Linked DNA regions of Homo sapiens: region 2 is linked to region 1. Evidence: promoter capture Hi-C in 16 types of primary human blood cells and fetal thymus (Javierre and others, 2016). All regions are on one chromosome and are shown on one strand. Each heading gives the region's core, a stretch centred on a gene start or on the middle of the fragment in contact. The rest is flanking DNA. Distances are from core to core; before and after follow the strand shown.

Region 1 (4,354 bases), core at 320-2,819:
TCAGCCTCCTGAGTAGCTGGGATTACAGGTGTGCATCACCACACCTGGCAAATTTTTGTATTTTTAGTAGAGATGGGGTTTTGCCATGTTGGCCAGGCTGGTCTCGAACTCCTGACCTCAGGTGATCCACCTGCCTCAGCCTCCCAAAGTGCTGGGATTACAGGCGTTAGCCACCCGCGACCAGCCTAGAGGATTGTTAAGAGTATGAAATTAATACGTATAAAGCCCTTAGTGCCAGTGCCTAGCACATAAGCATGGGTTATTGTTGTAAAGGAGCAACTGAGTCACTCAGGTATTTTCCTCCTAATCATGTGCCTGGAATCTTTAGGTAAAAGAGAGATGACTCACATACCCTCATACCCTGCCCCAGCACCCCTACGCCAGGAGTTATTTCTGGAGCACTCGTAACAGTTTTTTATTCTGTTCCCCTACAAGCCACTGACTCTTGATTTGATTCTGTCCCTACAAGCCACCTGGACTCTTCCTGAGAAACAAAGGAGCCTCGTGGGCCCTTCATGGTTTCTACCACCTTCCCTCCCTTTCCTCCCCAGTGCTGGTTCCTGCCCTTCAGAAGGCTGTGTTCCATTCACTCACTCCCAGGTGTGCCCTGGAGGGTGGGAAGTAATAACTGGCCCCAGATGCCCTTATGATCCAAGGGAAGAAATCCAGGCAATGTGCAGACACTGGGTAGACTGGAGCTACGGGACTGGCTGGTCTTCACTGGCTGTATTTTGATCAGGTTATCTTTAATCTCCTTGACCTCGGTCAACATTCAGTTCTGTGAATATTGGGGGAGACGGGGGAAGCTTACCTGGAACACAGTCGGGCGCCAATTCAAACAAGGCCCAGAAAACATTAGGAGTCTGGCCTCTGAGTTGGCTTCTCTGACCCCTAAAATGTGACTAGAGACCGGTGCTAGCCTCTTCCCCCTGCATCTGGGAGGGGAGGGAGTGTCAAGGTGGGTTCACTTTACACTCGGTCCTCCCCTTGTTCTTTCAGCTGCTTCCTGCCCTGCTCCATGGAATCTCATCTAATGGGGTGAAATGCCTAGCACACAGCCAGCATTTTAGGTTTCTCAAATGATCGCTATTGCCATTCATAACAATAACTAACATTCACAACCCTGTGTCGGGTGCCCTCTCACTTGCCCTACATCAGGATCAGCCTGGGTCCTCATTCTCTAGGGCCTCTTTCCCCCAGGGAGGCCTGGAAGTGCAGTCCCGCAGTCCCGGCCGATCGGGACAGCTAAATTGGGAGCGCGATTGAGGCTGGAATGCGGGTGGAGGCACCTGGTCTCCCTCGGCTGCCCGCTCTAGGGGCGCACGCCCCCTCGCCCGTTCCCTCTCCAAGCGTCCTGCTCTAGGTCTGCGAACCCGAGCCTCCCCAGCCTACCCGGGAGTCATGGAGGGAGGGAAGCAGCGTGCGCACCTAGCACACAGCTGCACATTTATTTTCGATGGTTCTCCGAGGCCGGCGGAAGCTGGGAGGGGAGTCGGGGTCGCTCGACTTTCCCGCCGCTGGAGGGGGCGGGGCAACTTGGGCTCTGGCCCCGCCCCTATGCTAGCCCCGCCCTCTTAGGTTGATGGCAGCGGCAGCTGGGGCTGCAGCGGCGCCGGGCTCTAGAGAGCCGCAGGATCGGCCAGAGTGCGGAGCTGGACACCCGGGTCCCAGATACTACAGACACCCGGAGAGGTGGCTCCTTCGCCCTGAAGCCTTCCTCGGCCCCCTACGCACTCGGGCCCCTTCCGCAGAGGATTCGCAGCGTGAGCGCCCCGCAGCCCGCTCAGGACCAGGTACCCAGCCCCCCACACCCGGCCGTCACCGCAGCCAGCGGAGCGGGCGGGGTCCCTGAGGGGCAGAGGTCTGCGCCTCCTCCCCCCGCGCCGCCAAATTCGGTTTCGGGCGGGGAGGACGTGGTGTCTATATTTGGCCGGACAGCAGCCAGCGCTCCCGGAGGGCGCAGACACCTCGTCTCGCAAGAACGCAGTGTCAGGGCAGCAGGCTGAAGAAGGGTGCAGGGAGGCCGGGCCTCAGGCTCGGGGCCGCAGACGCGCCTTGAAGGGCACACGGATGCTGGGGCTGGGGTGGGGCAGGAGCCACTGGCTGGGGCTTTGGGAGTGCTCAGTGTGTCCTCTAGGGAGACCCTAGCTGGAGAAAAGGCACCTCACCCTCCCCACCCCTGCAAATCTGGCTTGGCCGTGGCGGGGGCAGGGGTGGAGGATGGGGTTGAAGACCCCACCCCTAGAAGAGTTCACTAGGAAGAAGGCCCAACCAGGGCAGAGGACCCAGAGGAGAAACCGGACAAGCCTATGGTAGGCAAAAGCCAGAAGACCATGATCAGGGCTTCCTGGAGAAGCCAGTGCAGAAAGGAGTGGGAGAAGAGGGATCCACCTCACTCTGTGCTGCCACCCGTCCCCCCACAAGGCATGGGATGAAAACAGTAGCAGAAAGGACTCAGATTGGTGGACAGGAGGAACTTCCCCCTTGGCAAAATTTTAGGAAAAGGCAAAACCCCATCTGCCTGAACTATTCCAGAGATGCGAGTTCGGTATCCTGTGGTGGCTGCAGTCTTGGCCCCATACCTGGCTTTAAGCCAAGATCCAATGGTCAAGTCTTCTGCTTCTGGACAGGGTGCCTCTGGGAGCTACAACCACGTCCGTGAAGAGATGCTCATCAAGGCTGGCGGTGGTGGGGGCGGGGGGTGCAGGCAGTGTGGCATTGAGGCTCCTCCCAAAAACATTCCAACGTCCAGAAAGCTTTCAGTCTGTTAGGCTCCACAATCCCCTCAGCCTGGGTCTCTGTGGAGAATTCAGGCCCCAAATCCTAGCCACTTACATTAAACAGCATTTTACACAGCAAAATAACTTTCCCATACTTTGACCACCTTGAAGAAAGCTCCCTGCTTCTAGGACCAGACACTATATGGATTTATACCTGACTCCTGACCACATAACCCTTCTCATCAGCCACCCCTCCACTCCTCCTCCCTCCCGCAGCTCACAGGACTAAGGACCAAAGGCATTTCTGGGCACTGAGATCCTACCTCTCTGCCTGCAGCTATGAGCAGACGTGTGGTTCGGCAAAGCAAGTTCCGCCATGTGTTTGGGCAGGCAGCAAAGGCCGACCAGGCCTACGAGGACATCCGTGTGTCCAAGGTCACATGGGACAGCTCCTTCTGTGCCGTCAACCCCAAATTCCTGGCCATTATTGTGGAGGCTGGAGGCGGGGGTGCCTTCATCGTCCTGCCTCTGGCCAAGGTGAGGGATCAGGGAAAGGAAGCAAGTGGGAGGACACTAGCTGGGGCCCCTGGGAACTCCTGAGCCTTTGTTCTCACCTAGTTCCATTCCATAGTCAGGAGAAGCATCTGTGTGGATTGGCTCCTCCCTATTCCCCAAGCCCTCAAGGACCAGAGGGGAGGCCACCCCACCCCACCCTAACATCAGGGTGGCTTACTCCCACTCCCTAGCCCTCCCACCTCTCCATGCACCACCCCATTCCCAGCAGGGACCAGGAGGGGAGCCGGGTGATGGAGATGGTTGGGACACAGCACAGCCAAGCCTGGCCAGATTCCATCACTGCCTCTCCTAATGCCGCATCCCCTCATGTTTTGGGTGTGGAGAACCTCCTCCCTAGCCCAAGATGACCATTTGATTAAGTCACATCCCAGAGCAGCAAACTGAGGACAGGGTCAGGCTCTATCCAAAGAGTCCCTGGTTACCTCCAAGGACACTTGCAGTGAAGTAGAAAGAAAGGGAACGGAAAGGAAGGGGGACATGACACATAAAGCCAGAGCCCTCCCTACCCTCAGGATGGGGACCAGGCAATGACTACCACGTTAGCTTCATAACCTTAAGCCCCTTGACCATCCACATCCCAAGGATGACTCTCCCCCAACCCCCAAGGTATGACCTTGACCTGGATTCTGGCCCCTACACCTTGTTAGGGTAGGCTCCACAGGTGGCGGGGTCAGGAAGAGGCCTGAAAAAGCCAGTGACTCACCCCAGACAATGCAGACATCATCCTGGGACACAGCCCCAGGGCTCAAATTTCAGCCGGAGCTGCCTCCTCCCCCAATATGTCTGCTCTTTCAGTACCACATAGCCACCCTCTCCCCCGCTGCCTGGTCTGGACCAGTGTCTGCCCCTGCAGAGGTCTCAGAACCCCCACAAGCAGCCTGTGAAGACCAAAAAATAGATGGGCCCCCAGCTCCCATTTGGGGATAGTAGGCACCAGGACTGCTTGCTGCTTGTGGTTCCAAGGTAAAAGTGGTTCACAAGGAAGAGATCTGCCAAGGGAGGCCAGGAAAGGGCTGTCCAGCACTACACTATTATCTCACCTTGACCTCTTCCACCAG
Region 2 (4,135 bases), core at 147-2,646, 130 kb before region 1:
ATGGTTATCCCATATAGCCAGCCAAGGTGTGTAGTAGGCTGTACCATCTAGGTTTGTGTAAGTATACTCTATGATGTTCACGCAATGATAAACTTGCCTAATGATGAATTTCTCAGAATGTATTCCTGTCATTAAGTGATGCATGACTGTATTTATAACTCTCATTGCTTTGGTTAGGCCTTCTAATGTTAAGTAGTGCGATACTAGTGGGCTTGTGTGAAAAGAAGGCTTCTTATGTGTTGTAAATGAGTATACTGTGTGGTGTAGGTTCTGGCACAGATCATTTATCAAGCTGAGGCCATTTCTTACTATTGCTAATTTACAAAGATTTTTCAGTTAGGTATAGTTGAATTTTACTGACTGCTTTTTTATATCTACGGAATAATATTTTCCCCTTTACTGCTAATGTAATGACACATTGAATTATTGAAGTTGAATCATCCTTACATAACTGAACTACACCCTTTTTGCGTTATTCATTTAACATATTGCTAGGCTTGGTTTACAAATATTTAAGGTTTTGCATTTAGGGATCTAAATATTTATTGAATCTTTGCTGTCTTCGTCCAGCTTATGTCTGATTTACAGAATGATTTGGGTAGTTTTTCATTTTTTTCTGTGCTCTGAAACAGCTCTGTAGTAGGATTATCTGTATTTTAAAGCTTAGAACCAAGAAGTTTTATTCCAAGTATTTTTTATTTTATGAATTTTTTTTACCACTCACATTTTTAAATTTCCATGTTTGCATTGAATAAATATAATTATCATCTGTGATGCTCTTAAAATCTAGATCTTGTCTTCTACAGAAATGGGCAAGCATAACTGAATAATTGATAATTGAGTAATTGAAACCAGGCATTCATTTATGGTTTAAGGGCTTTTTTTTTCTCTTTTTGGTGGATAAAGAGACTAATATTAATATTTAAGAGAGGTACGAGATGCCTCTTTGATTTTAAATTAATACTGACTTTTTGTGGTTATTTTTGATCCTTAGAGAATATAGCCTTAAAATTTAGTATTTTTAAGAAAGTGATCAAATTGGTTTACATCTAGTGAATCTTCTGGGTGTTATGGCCTTCAAATGTGAAAGAACAGTTAATGATCCCCTGTCAAAGTATAAAGATGCATTTGTGTTTTTATTATTGGTGGTAACTTTCTGTGGCTTTATCCACCCTTGTGATTGTTTAAAATCAGCAGAGCAGTAATTAACCTATAACTGAGGGGTATAAAAAAAGAGCTCTCAACTTTGGCTTTCTTGGAATCATGCTTAGCCAAGTTAACTGAGAAGTAAATCTGCACAATGAAGATGAACAGGAATGGTAAGGTAGTGATGTGCTCAAGTCAAGATTTCTTTTTGATAAGTCTAGAATGGATTTCTTTTTTTTTCTAAACTACTACTATTTGCCTTTGTGCTCACCTATATTTACTCCTGAAATTGGAAAGTGTCTCTAGACTTAACACTGATAAACACTGCCCAAAGCCAAATAACTAAAGATGTTGTCAGTCTCTGTTTCCAAGAGCTGTTGGGTCTCGCAATAATAGAGAGGCTGAAACTGCTGTAGATCATCTTGCTCCCATCTGCTCTTGGGTCCTTCCAGTAAATGGGAGTCCTCTTAATCTACCATATGTTAAACTGCCTTGGGGCTAAAGAACAGTGATGTAGATGTTATCACACAATTTCTGAATCTTTCACATACTTTACAATTTCTAAGGTGGAAAGAAAAAATCAGTATCCTATTTTTAGTTAGGGTTAGAGTTAGCTTTGCATCGTTGAATGATACAGGATGGTTGCTGTATAACTAACATAATTAAGTTTACCTTAAAGAAATATGCTAAGAACATCAAGGCCTTTTTAGGTGTTCCTGTAATTTGGAAAGGGTGTAGCCAGTAATTTATAAATAGATTGTTCTTGTTGCACACCAAAGGGCAAATCTGGGCTCACCCTTTTTGCATGTTGTGTGAATTTAACAACTTGTGTTTTCTGCATTAATCTATTTTTAGAGGGGTATAACCCCTCTTTTAGTAATTCGAGGGATTTGGCTTAGTTACACTTGGTAAAGCTACAAAATCCAGAGGTTTGAATCACTCCTAAATAAAGAGAAGCCTCAGTATTAGCCAATTATAAGCTTTCTTTAAAAGTTGTAACAATTTAGGTTTCCAGGGTAGAAGAAGTAGAATTATTTGATTTTTTTTGGTAATGAACTAAACTATTTAAATTGTTGTATATGTTTGTTTGAGGATGGTACCTGCCTCATTTCAGGACATTTTGGATATCACGTGAGATAATTATTCACAAGAAATAACAATAAAAATTCCAGTTATGGTTGTTACTTTTATCATCTGTACTTAATATTTATCCATCAAAATTTACATGGATATTCGTGATCCATAACAGGATATTTCAAGTCCTGAGCGTTCTAATTGTGGACTTTATATTGATTGTCTTCTGTAGTGACTGCGGAAAAGTTTATGCTACATATGGCTTTATCTGTTTGCAACTTAAGCAACACTTTAAGCATACTTCATCACCCCAGCAAAAAGCTGGTCAGGTTTATGAGCTTGGCATCTTATTGGTGCATTTTTGTCTCTGCTGTTCTCTGAATTTTGTGTCATAAAAACCAGTTAGTCTCCATGAGGGCTAAATTGAATGAGAGTTTTTTTCCTCTGATTTTAAATAAATATCACTTACAACAGAGCTCTTGGGAGATGCCATTTCTTCAGGACTCTCCTCTGACCCACGTCCCTTTTAAGTTACTCTTTCTCTTAATGTTAATATACACAGTTCTCATGAACATCAAAAGTTTTAATTTCCCATAATTGTATCATCTCTCTTTTTTCCTTTTTTTTTTTTTTTTTTTTTTTTTGAGACAGAGTCTCACTCTGTCGCCCAGGCTGGAGTGCAGTGGTATGATCTTGGCTCACTGCAACCTCCGCCTCCCGGGTTCAAGGGATTCTCCTGCCTCAGCCTCCCTAGTAGCTGGGATTACAGGCGTCCACCACCACACCCGGCTAATTTTTGTTTTTTTTTAGTAGAGGCGGAGTTTCGCTATGTTGGCAAAGCTGGTGTTGAACTCCTGACCTCAGGTGATCTGCCTACCTCAGCCTCCCAAAGTGCTAGGATTACAGGCATGAGACATTGCACCTGGCCTCATCTATTTTTAGGGGGAGCTTTAGTTTGAAAAGTTGGGGTTTCTGTGGCAGGATGTGAATTCTCAATGTAAATCTCTCTTCCTAAGAGATGAGTGAAATAAATGGATTCAAACAACAAATAAAACTGAACCTCTTTGAAGTCCCTTTGAACAGACTTGATATCTATCATTGTGTTAATCCTACCTCTGTGATGCCCTTCCCTCCTCAATAAAATCTCACACTTAATTCTTAAAGTATCCCGTTCCTTAAACATTCTCTTTAAAAACTCTTAAAAGATTTATTGGGTCACATATTCAGAATAACTACTTGCCATTTGTTATTGTACCTAACAGTAATAGTGCAGTGTTTGAAATGAAATGGACCTGAGCTCCAGAGTTCATCATTTATTATCTGTGTGACTTTGAACATATTATATAATCACCCTAAACCTTTTTCCTCATCAGTAAAATGGAACTTATAATACCTATGAGGATTAAATACGATATGGTAGCTTAAATTTTTGCTCATTTTGCTCTTTTGATATGAGCCAAATTATAGGAGAAATAATTAGAGTGGCACACTAGCATGATGGTAAACATTCTGTCATTTCCATCATTATCCTAAATTGCATCTATTCTGTGTAAGAAGTAAGAGATAAAAAAGAAGTACAAGACATGGTTCCTGAAGACAGGATACTCAGTTTGTTGAGGAAATAAGACGTCAATGAAGGGATAAATAAGAGCACAATTTATTGCATGGTAAGTGTCAGATGAACAGTACAATTTGTGCTTTAGAAATTCAGAGAACAGAAGGGTATCATTGTAGCTGGGTGCGGTGGCTCACGCCTGTAATCCCAGCACTTTCAGAGGCCGAGGCAGGCGGGTCACTTGAGTTCAGGAGTTCAAGACCAGCCTGGCCAACATGGTGAAACCCCGTCTCTACTAAAAATACAAAAATTAGCCGGGTGTGGTGATGGGCGCCTGTAATCCCCGCTACTCGGGAGGCT

What was found. The method cuts DNA at HindIII sites, captures the fragments that hold promoters and counts their contacts. A CHiCAGO score of 5 or more calls a contact.
Region 2: a fragment that was not itself captured here is called in contact with the fragment with the promoter of CORO6 in region 1 in 4 of 17 cell types (M1 macrophages, endothelial precursors, activated CD4 T cells and 1 more); the score reaches 5.9 in M1 macrophages.

The regions. Positions count from the first base shown.
Region 1 is chr17:29,620,127-29,624,480 of GRCh38, reverse strand. CORO6 (coronin 6) reads left to right here and starts at 1,569. Exons shown (of 11, transcript NM_032854.4): 1 at 1,569-1,793; 2 at 2,997-3,257. The coding sequence starts at 3,060. RefSeq lists enhancers at 1-968, 3,876-4,170 and a silencer at 1,756-1,905. The HindIII fragment of the contact is 1,950 bases long and covers 809-2,758 here.
Region 2 is chr17:29,745,277-29,749,411 of GRCh38, reverse strand. The region is part of intron 3 of SSH2 (slingshot protein phosphatase 2); the gene reads left to right. Among named protein-coding and RNA genes, the nearest start is that of SSH2-AS1, 110 kb to the right of the region's middle. The HindIII fragment of the contact is 1,464 bases long and covers 665-2,128 here.